2 separate regions of the Homo sapiens genome follow, and region 2 is linked to region 1. Evidence: promoter capture Hi-C in 16 types of primary human blood cells and fetal thymus (Javierre and others, 2016). All regions are on one chromosome and are shown on one strand. Each heading gives the region's core, a stretch centred on a gene start or on the middle of the fragment in contact. The rest is flanking DNA. Distances are from core to core; before and after follow the strand shown.

Region 1 (5,596 bases), core at 809-3,308:
AACCTCCGCCTCCTGGGTTCAAGCAATTCTCCTGCCTCAGCCTCCCGAGTAGCTGAGATTACAGGTGCCTGCCACCACACCCGGCTAAGTTTTATATTTTTAGTAGAGACGGGGTTTTGCCATGTTGGCCAGGCTGATCTCAAACTCTTGACCTCAAGTGATCTGCCTGCCTCAGCCTCCCAAAGTGCTGGGATTACAGGCATGAGGCACTGTGCCTGGCCTCAAATTCTTAGAATACTGCCTACCACATATTGAATGTTCATTAAATCCTAGGTATAGGACAGGGGTGTTGGCTCATGCCTGTAATGCTAGCATCTTGGGAGGCTGAGGCAGGAGGATCACTTGAGCCCAGGAGTTCCAGACCAGCCTGCGCAACATAGCAAGACCTCTCCTCTACTAAAAAAGATTACTGTGGCTGCAGTGTGGAGAACAGATTGTCGATAGATGATAATACCTACGATTTTATTTATTTTTTACTTCTTATTTATTTTTTTGAGATGAAGTGTTGCACTGTTGCCCAGGCTGGAGAGCAGGGGCACGATCTCGCCTCACTGCAACCTCTGCCTCCCGGGTTCAAGCAATTCTCCTGCCTCAGCCTTCTTAGCAGCTGGGATTACAGGCACCCGCCACTACGCCCAGCTAATTTTTTTTATCTTTAGTACAGACAGGGTTTCACCATGTTGGCCAGGCTGGTCTCAAACTCCTGACCTCGTGATTCGCCCGCCTAGGCCTCCCAAAGTGCTGGGATTACAGACGTGAGCACCACACCTACTCAGTTGTTCTGTATACCATTACATGTTCAGCAACCCTAATCCAACCATCTGAAATTAAAATGCTCCAAAATCAAAACTTTTTGATCATCAACACGATGCCACAGTGGAAAATTCCACACCTGACCGCATGTAAAAAGCTGTAGTCAAAATTTTGTTTGATACACACACAATTTTTAAAATTGCATAAAATTACCCTGAGGCTATGTGCATAAGGTGTATACGAAACATAAATGAATTTCAAGTTTAGCCTCTGGCCCCATCCCCAAGATAAAGAGCCACAATCTGAAACAGTTCTGGTCTTAAGCATTTGGGATGAAGGATACTCAACCTATACCCAGTTTTCTACACGACACTACTTATGAATATCTTTTAAAAATTTCTTTATCCCTACTTGTTTTCTGTCTTCCCTACCAGAATATAATTTTCACGAGACCAGTATCTGACAAACACACGTGCTACATATTCAATCTTTATCGAATGAATTTAATATTTTCCAAGTTTTCTATAATTAACATTACTTCTATATTATTAATTTTATAGAGAATCCAAATAGCATTTTATTAAGTAGACCATTAGTCGGTCCGAGTTCAAATTCTGCTACTACAGCAAACTATATGTAGGACTCAAGGCAAGTTTCTTTTTTTTGAGACGGAGTCTCGCGCTGTCGCCCAGGCTGGAGTGTAGTGGCGCGATCTCGGCTCACTGCAACCTCCGCCTCCTAGGTTCAAGCGATTCTCCTGCCTCAGCCTCCAGAGTAGCTGGGATTACAGGCGCGTGCCACTACGCCCGGCTAATTTTTGCATTTTTAGTAGAGCCGGGGTTTCACCATGTTGGCCAGGCTGGTCTCGAACTCCTGACCTCAAGTGATCCGCCTGCCTCGCCGCCGAAAGTGCTGGGATTACAGGAGTGAACCACCACGCCTGGCGGAGGCAAGTTTCTTAATCTTCTTTCCTCACTTGTAAAACTGGAATACTGTCCATTTTCATAAGGTTAAATCATACAACACAGGTAAAAGCGCTTCAGCACGCAACGAAATTTTTCTAACGTAACGAAAAACTCCTCGTTGCTCCTTGCCTTGCCCTTAACCTCAACGCTTCAGGTCCCGACCAATCTCTCGGAGAGCTCAGAGGGAGCCGCTCTAGCCGCCTTCCGCCACGGAGTGCAGGGACAGCCGGGAAGGGGACGGAAGCCGGAGGCCAGAGCACGCACTTCCTCCCACGCTTTCCTCACAGCCAATCGCCCACTGGTGCCCCACCCCTTCCGTTCTGGGAAAACTCGAGCACCCAGAACGGCTTCCGGCGGGAGCTGTGCAGCTCCTTATCATGGTGAGTTGGCTGTTGGGGTGAGGGTTTCGGCTGTAGCTGATTCGGTTTATCTTATTTGGTCCCGAAGCGACCTTGAAATCCCTCAGCCACCCAGAGGAGGGGTCATTGGAGTTGAAGTCGGGCCCCTTGGCAGGAGCGGCTGTCTCCCAAAATGTTCCCCTTCAGAGTTCTGGTCCCTTTCGGTCCCTCACCTGTTCCGCAGGCGCTCACGATCTAGGCCCCGCTGCAGGCAGAGCTTTCAGCTCCTGGCGAGTTTCTGACTTCCCTCTGCCGAGATTTCTTTAAGGTAATAAAAGTTTTTGCCAGCGTCAACAACTAGGCCACCAACAAAAGATCTGAAAACAAGTCCACAGCAACAACTGTAATAGTGATTCTTAGAGCAGTGGCGATAACGCCAGCGGAAAAAAAAAAAAAAGGTTAGTAATAGGGTTTTAGGGCAGACGTCTCACTCTGCAACTTGGCTTTACTAAATATTAAGTAGCCTGATTACGGCAGCAAATTTCATAAGCGCAGTAACTACAGAAAGTCAAGGTGTTGGTAGGACATTTTATTGCTGCTTTATTTCTGGGTTTGTAGAAACTAATGGAAGACCCAGTAGACGTTATGGTTGTTGGGATATGGTGTTTTCTCTCAAATTTGTTAGAATTAGTCATTCTTTGCCTTTAGAGCTCAAATATATAGCTCTGAACTTTAAAGATAAGCAGTTGGTTGGGATTTGAAGTGTCCAAGTGGCGTGTGCCTTTTGAAAATGCATTTATTAGAAAAATTTATGGAGTACTTATTGATAGCCTACGTATGAGAAAGAGACCACATTTCTGTGCCTAAGCTTTTGTCACTGTACTAAGTTTTTTACTTAAGTGGATATGGTCGGGAAAATGCCTCATTCACACACTTTATGTTTTGTAAATTTTCTGTAATCCTTTTGCACACAGAAAATGGGTAAAAGTTTACACTTTTTGGCTAATGATCAAATAGCCTTCAGTTACGCTCTTCTTCAAAACATTCACCATTGTGAAGCCTGTAGCCAGAGTTATATTTCTAAAATTTGACCACATCACTCCCTTACTCAAATTTTCTCCTTTTTTTTTTTTCTGTAGCACTCAAGATAAAGTCCTGTTTAGCATGGCATACAAAGCCACTCATTATCAAGCTTCTTACTTTTACAGCCTCTTTTTTTGTTGTTGTTTTCGAGACGGAGTTCCACTCTTGTTGCCCAGGCTGGAGTGCAATGGCGCGATCGCGGCTCACCACAACTTCCGCCTCCCGGGTTCAAGCGATTCTCCTGCCTCACCTTCCCGAGCAGCTGGGATTACAGGAATGCGCCACCACGCCTGGCTAATTTTGTATTTTTAGTAGAGACGGGGTTTCTCCATGTTGGTCAGGCTGATCGCGAACTCCTGACCTCAGGTGATCCTCCCGCCTCTGCCTCCCAAAGTGCTGGGATTACAGGCGTGAGCCACCGTGCCAGGCCACAAACTCTTTTTTTTTTTTTTTTTTTAATGCATACATGTATGCAACATCCGTATTTCAGCCACAGTGAATAGCTTGCAAATCATGCTGTATTAATTGAGCCTTTGTACCTAATTTGCATATGCTCTTCCATCCCCAGAATTGTTCTCTGTTCTCTATCGGCTGTCCTTATCAGAATAACCCTTATATATCCTTAATTATTTTTCATGAACCTTTCCCTCATGTTCCAGTATCCTCTTAGTTGCTTCTCCTTTGTGCTCTGGTGGTACCTTGTGCTTTTATATGCACAAACACACACACACACACACCAGTTTTGTTACATAAAGCTGCACAAAACGAATACATACAATAGAAACTTAACTTGCCTATAATACTGATGATTTGAAGGGAGTTGAAGATAAAGGGATAAGAGACTTAAAATTCAGAGGTCTTTCAGATTATACACCTTCATTAACTCACAGCCCTAATTTAAGAAAGTAAAACTTGAATCTCTTGTGTTTTTTACCAGTAACATCTGTAATCCTTACAGACGATGTTAAAGTTGTGTACTTATTTGTCTTTCTCACTTTCTAGACTGTAAGCTCATTGAGAGCAGGACCTATGTATTTCACCCTAATTCCCAGAGCTTTGTAGCGTGCCTGGCCCAGAGGAAGTTTTCAATAAACATCTGTTTTATAAGACACTGAAAACTTATGGCACTATATCTTTATGCTTGAAACATTAGTATTAGTCATGCAGGGAAACAGTATTTAAGGTTTATTTTAAAGGATATTGAGAAAAGGTTTTGCGTTTATTAAGAACATGCTATGTGAAAACAGTACTTTCTTAGAAAATATAAAGAAAAATACAAATAAAACGTCTGTTTTATAAAGCACTGAAAACCTATGGCACTATATCTTTATGCTTGAAACATCAGTATTAGTCATGCAGGGAAACAGTATTTAAGGTTTATTTTTTAAAATAAATATTTTAAAATAAAATATTGAGAAAAAGGTTTTGTGTTTATTAACATGCTGTGTGAAAACAGTGCCTTCTTAGAAAATATAAATAATATAAATATATAATATTAAAAATATAAGTATATAAAAACAAAATATAAAGGAAAATAGCCCTTGTCATTAGTGAAGTTACTAAAATTACAAAGCAATGTAACAAGTTGAAGGCTTTACTTTGGTTAATGCAAAATAAGTGGCATAAAAAACACTATAGTTTGGAATGATCTAGGAAGACTTCATTTAAGAAGTGAAACATGAAACTAAGTACTTTGTGCCCCACTCTAATACTCTTAATCTAATACTTGTTTGTCATTATATGAATAAGAGCTTGGGTTAGACAGATCTGGCCTTTTCACGCAAGAGTGGTCATGAGACAAAAGAGTAGACCAGTTTAACTGAAGTTGAGGGTTTCTATCTGGAGTAAGAGATAAGACTGGAAAGAAACAGGCTAAGTCATTGAAAACCTGGAAATTCAGGTTGTAAAATTTGTAGTTTATTCTGATAGCAATGGCGAGCCAATATAATTTTGGGAAGAGTGATATGACATTAGGATTTTTGTTTTATTTTCATTGTCAGGATGGCATCAGAAGTGGCTTTCTGCCTCTTAGAAACCTTGTTGATTCTCTTAACCTGAAACTTAAAGTTGGCTAGGGTTAAACAGAAGATGTCCAAAATAACAGTATTAAGGAGAATTTTTTAAATCTTTGGAACCAAAATAACTCACACATAATTCTTTAAGAAAAGAATATATATACATATGTACATACACATATATATAATATTTATACATATGTACATTTATTTATGTATTTATTTATTTATTTCGAGATGGGGTCTCGCTCTGTTGCCCAGGCTTGAGTAAAGTGTGAACCTGGCTCACTGCTTGACTTCCCGGGCTCATGCGATCCTTCCACCTTGGTGTCCTGAGTAGCTGGGACTACAGGCATGTACCACTATGCCTGGCTAATTTTTTTCTTTTCAATTTTTTTGTAGAGACAGGGTCTCAGTATATTTCCTAGGCTGGTCTTGAACT
Region 2 (5,596 bases), core at 1,359-3,858, 1.4 Mb after region 1:
TTTTTTTTTTTTTTTTTTTATGAGACGGAGTCTTGCTCTGTCGCTCAGGCTGGAGTGCAGTGGTGCGATCTCGGCTCACTGCAAGCTCCGCCTCCCGGGTTCACGCCATTATTCTGCCTCAGCCTCCCAAGTAGCTGGGACCACAGGCGTTCACCACCACACCCAGCTAATTTTTTGTATTTTTAGTAGAGACGGGGTTTCACCATGTTAGCCAGGATGGTCTCGATCTCCTGACCTTGTGGTCCGCCCACCTTGGCCTCCCAAAGTGCTGGGATTACAGGCGTGAGCCACCGCGCCCGGCCAGTAGTACCTTTTTCAGTTTCCTTATTTTGCATCATCTGAAGTGGGGGTAGGTTTTCTGCACTTACCATGGGCACTTGATATGGCCCATTATGATGCAGTCACCATAAGGCTGTGTGAATATTAGTCACATTCTACAGATGAGGACACTAAGGCTGAGTGGCTTAATAATCTTCAGCGATCTTAATGCCTGTAAGTATGAAACTAGATTTTGAGATTGAGGTATATCTAAATCCATATTCCTTCTTTTTTGACTAGTCAAATAAGGATTTATACGCAGGATGTGAAAAGAGGAAAATTTAGCTAGTTGAATTTGTTTAAACTTGTATATATTGTACATAATTACCTTATAATAATTGAATAATTATTTTCCTCATAGGGTTGTTGAAGGTGCTAAACAAAAAGTCATGCCTAATACAAAAATCAATTTTGAAAGAAAAAGGGTTTCATTCTTGACTCACTTTTGATGTAAGCTGTGTTCAATATTGAACTAATATTGAATATAATATTGTGTTCAATATTAGTGAATGAACGAGTGATGACTTCCCTAAAAGTATTAGTATTCCCTTTCTTTCTTTAAAAAAAATCCAGCTTTTGCAGGAATAGTATTCTCTTTCTAATTCACATCGTTAGCTTAAATGAAGGATTGCTGATATGAAATTTTTATATATTATGGTTTAAAGGAATTCTACAATGGCTTTCTCTGCAATTAAAAAAAGCTTTTAAATACTACTTAAACAAAATTGTGTTCCCTACCAGGCAGGCTCAGAAAGAAAGAAAAAAAATTGTCATCATTTTAATGGGATCTACGAGGAATCTTTTGCATTTTATTTAGAAATTATTTATGTTTATAATGGAACCTGATATCTGAAGACCTCTTTGAAACTGAGTTTACTAGAATGAAAGGAACAATGATTTGGAAGTGAGGAAGCTCTGGTTTTTGCATCAGATCAGTATAAGAAAGAATTTTTCTAACACTCTAAGAGTAGTCTTAAAGTGACTTAGGTATCGTTGAGAGATGATGAGCTTCCTGTCTAGAAGGTGTTCACCTAGAGGCTGAATAATTACTTAAGGGTACTCTTGTGAGAAGGCACACCCACAAGTGCCAGCACATGCCCTTTTACTGATGACTTTGATTCTAGATTCTTTCTCAAAAAAGAATATAAAATACCAACTTAAAACCCTTCTAGGGTCTGGCGCGGTAGTTCAGACCTGCAATCCCAGCACTTTGGGAGGCTGAGGCAGGACGATTACTTGAAGCCAGGGGTTCAAGGCCAGCTTGAGCAACATAGCAAGACTCTGTCTCTGTTAAAAAAAAAAAAATTAATTAAAAATGACTTCCAGGTGGGACCCAAGTGAGGCAGAGGGGCAGGGGCTGGCAGACCAGCGGTAAGCATGGCATATCAGGGCCTCACCATACGTCTCATTGCAATGAGCGTGTTTTAGGGCTTCACTGGTTTCTTCATGCCTTGGTTCATCCCTAAGGGTCCTAAGTAGGGAGTTATCATTACCATGTAGGTGACCTGTTCAGTTTGTTGCTGTCTCTTTTGGCTGATTGCAATCCTGGCCAACTCAACCCTCTCTTCAGACTGCAGTTGAAACATGAAATCATCTGGTATCCGAAGTGTCATTGGCCTTGAGGAAGACAGGCTTTACAGTGCTCAGTCTTAGCAGTCATGAGAAAAGAATTCCTTCTAGATGCAAAATCCAAACCACACCACTTTTCTTGACTTGCTTATTTTGGGCATCAGCTGCCTTAAACATTCACACCACATTTGAATGTCTAACACAATGCAGCATTTTTTTCTTCAACTTTTTTATGCTTTAATGAATTATGTGCCTACTTAACCTAAACTGTGCCAACTCCTCAAAATGATAATGCACTCTTTTGAGAGAGAAGATGCTTTTCTTCTGAGAAATGTGTTATTATGTCCTTGGAATTTGTGGATTTGTAGTGGCTCCTGCCTTCTCATAACATGGGAATCAGTGAACTATTTAGAACGTACTACTGCCTGACAAGACTCCAGTGGGGCAGTCAGTAGGAGAGGACGTTCAGAGGAAAGAGCTCTCCCAACAGAATTACACCAAATTATGTGTTCTTTTTTTTTTCTTTCTTCCTTTTTAAACAGAGTTTTGCTCTGTCGCTCCCGCTGAAGTGCAGTGGTGATCTCGTAGCCTCAACCTCCTGGGCTCAAGTGATCCTCCTGCCTCAGCCTCCCAAGTAGCTGGGACTGCAGCCGCTGGCCACCATGCCTGGCTAAGTTTTTTTATTTTTTGGTAGAGACGGTTTTGCCATGTTGCCCAGGCTGGTCTCAAAATCTTGGGCTCAAGCAATCCGCCCACCTTGGCCACTGCACCCCGTCATGAGCCACCACATCCGGCCCAAGGTATATTTTCAGCATGAATTTCTCATTTCTGCCATCTTTTGGAATAAATCATTTTTCTGTTTTCTATAGATAAAATAAAATATAAAATAAAGCTATTCTAGTGTCCCATCTTTGAGGGAGTCTGGTTACTGTCCATATTCTTAACTGCTGCTGCTACAGATTACCACAAATTTAGAGGCTTAAAACAAGACAGATTTATTATCTTACAGCTCTGGAGGTCAGACACCTGAAATGGATCTCACCTGGCAAAAATGGGCAGGTTTGCATTTCTTCTGGAATCTCTAGGAGAGAATCTGTTTTCTTCCCTGTTTTGGTTTCTAGAGGCCACCCACCTTCCTTGGCTTATGACTCCCCTCCTTCATCAAGACCAGCAACACCACTCCGACCCCTGCTACATGGTAGTCATGCCCTCTTACCTTCCTGCCTCCCTCTTTTACTTATAAGGACCCCCATCCTTGTGCCAGATAATCCAGAATAATCTCCCAACCTTAAGATCTTCAATTTAACCACACCTGCAAAGTCCCTTTTTCCATAGTCTCATGTTCCAACGATTATGATGCAGATAGTTTTCGGGGGAGGGGGGTCCATACCACACTGCCTTTCCTGGAGAGTAGAAACAATGAATGATCTTAAAGATCAGCCTTTTCTAGCTCTTCTTGAAGAGAATAAAGACAAATTATTTTTTTCACTTGTGAAAGAAATGTAAATGGGAAAATTGAAAACTGATTTCAGTTTCCAGAGGAACATGTTTTATAAGTCATAACCTTAAAAATTATTAGAAGGTTTTTAATTATATAGTAATTAAAAATTTATGCAGCTGACATCTTTAAGAAAGTTACTTCTAGCATCTATAGAAGTAATTTTTTATCATGGAAAAGAGGTAGGTATAAGCTCAAATATAAGATTTGTCATGGATTGGTTTCTAAGAGGTGATTAAATAGGCATCTAAAACAAATAACTTTTCTATCAAAAATAAAAGAACACTGTCTGAAAAATAGCAGCATTTTCCATTTTTAGTGAATTTATCTTTAGAATGACCCTCCAGCAAGGAGAAAATAGAAAGACCATAGATTTACTGGTGTTGCTCAGAAATGCAAGTTTGTATATGTTGCTAAATAAAGTCCTTTTCAGCTTGCACAGTGAAAGCACAACTCTTTTTTTTTTTAAGTTAGCATGTAGAATTAAATCTTGTATGGTCTCAAATACTTTATATTACTAAAGAATGCTGTTTTTTCAAATCATTCCTCTGGCTATGTTAGTATAGTTTCTGAGCCCTGGCAATTTTTAGAGAATATTACAAAGTTTGAGAACAACATCTTGCCTGTGTTTAAACTAAACAAAGGAAGTGCTATGTGTGTGAATGTACGTGTGTATATATATATATATATATATATTCACACACACACATTCACACACACAAATGTGTATATATATACAAAAACACACACAGAGATATATCCAGATCTTTCCAGAATAAAAGCTCCAAATTTGATTTCTGTTGTTCTCCCAACAAAGCTTCAGCCTAGTTGCCATGTTCTGCAATCAGGCACACAGTGAACCAGATAGAAACCCATCTAATTTGGATGCAGTAAGAGCTTATTAGACTGTAGCCTAGAGGTAATAAACTAGCCTTCACACCAGACCAAGCGTTGTATTTTGTTTGGCCTGTTTAATAAGTTAAAGAACTGAGCTTACATTTAAAAGTTTGGAGATTTTATTTTAAAAATCTGAGTGTCTGGCTTTTCTGGGGCGAAAACGTCTGCTGATTTGGCAGCATTGGAGGAACCTCATTGCCCATAAAGGCAATGATTGGCTTGGGTTGAGCAGGTTGCCCCTTCAACATGGGGTATGGATCTACCAGTTCCCTCTGTTTTCTGGACCCTGTAAGTCACACATTATGTCATATGTGTGAACATCCAGGCATTTATTTGCCCTGCATTATGGTTTGGGATTTCCAACCTTGTTTAGTCTTTTACTTGTTAAGCAGGTCTATCACTTTTTCTACCCTGTCTCCCATGGGCCTCTCCTCCTTTCTCTGCCTATTCCAGTCTCATGGAACTCCTCCTGGTCACTTAACATAACTTGCCCTTTCATGCCTCTATACTTTTGTACAGACTTTGCCTGGAATCCTGTTTCCCTCATTCGTCTGCCTGGCAGATTCCTCCTGCTCAGTCTTTGAGACTCAGTTTGGGAGAAGCCTTCTCTAACTGCCTTGGGCACTCATTCTCTCCTCCCAAGCCTTCCTTAGCATTTTGGCACAGGCAGCTTCAGGTGAGCACACGTGTAAACCCTCTGCTCTGTCAGCTACTTAGTTCACATCTTACCCTGTCCTCATGTCACAGGCCGACTAGTTCTTCTTGCCCGCTGCCCTAAAAGAACCAGTGAGAACCGGTATTGCAGCAAAGAAAGAGTTTAGTAATCGTAGGTCTGGCCAAGCAATAACAGGGAGAAATTTCTCAAATCTGTCTCCCTGATAATTCAGAGGCTAAGATTTTAAAGGGTACTTTGACTGACAGGGGGCTGGGGACCTGAAACAATTGACTGGCTGGGGTGAAATCACAACAGTGTCTGTAACTGTCTTCATGCAGCTTAGTCTGTTCTCAGGACCAGGTGGTACTGAAGTGCTGAATCTAAAAAATATCTCAGTGACCCAGTTCTTTAGGGTTCATAATAGTAAGGTTATAGGAGTAGTAGAGGAAGTTATAAATGTTGTGGCCCCAGTTACGTGACTCTGGGTCAGTTAGCAACTTGTAGGAAAACACATTAAGCAATGGCAGGTAATTGTTTATGCCAATTTTTCTTTTTTCTTTTTTCTTTTTTTTTTTAGATGGAGTCTCGCTCTGTCGCCCAGGCTGGAGTGCAGTGGCGCAGTCTCGGCTCACTGCAAGCTCCGCCTCCCGGGTTCACGC

What was found. The method cuts DNA at HindIII sites, captures the fragments that hold promoters and counts their contacts. A CHiCAGO score of 5 or more calls a contact.
Region 2: a contact is called between a fragment that was not itself captured here and the fragment with the promoter of SLC30A6 in region 1, in 1 of 17 cell types (non-activated CD4 T cells). The highest score is 6.8, in non-activated CD4 T cells.

Annotation. Positions count from the first base shown.
Region 1 is chr2:32,163,806-32,169,401 of GRCh38, forward strand. SLC30A6 (solute carrier family 30 member 6) reads left to right here and starts at 2,059. Exons shown (of 14, transcript NM_017964.5): 1 at 2,059-2,098. The coding sequence starts at 2,096. It overlaps SLC30A6-DT (SLC30A6 divergent transcript), which reads right to left and starts at 1,934. Exons shown (of 1, transcript NR_185886.1): 1 at 1,236-1,934. RefSeq lists an enhancer at 3,379-3,895. The HindIII fragment of the contact is 4,145 bases long and covers 1-2,922 here.
Region 2 is chr2:33,600,347-33,605,942 of GRCh38, forward strand. It overlaps LOC105374455 (a long non-coding RNA gene), which reads left to right. Exons shown (of 3, transcript XR_939942.3): 1 at 1-492. It also overlaps the pseudogene ATP6V0E1P3. Among named protein-coding and RNA genes, the nearest start is that of FAM98A, 3.8 kb to the left of the region's middle. The HindIII fragment of the contact is 3,183 bases long and covers 1,018-4,200 here.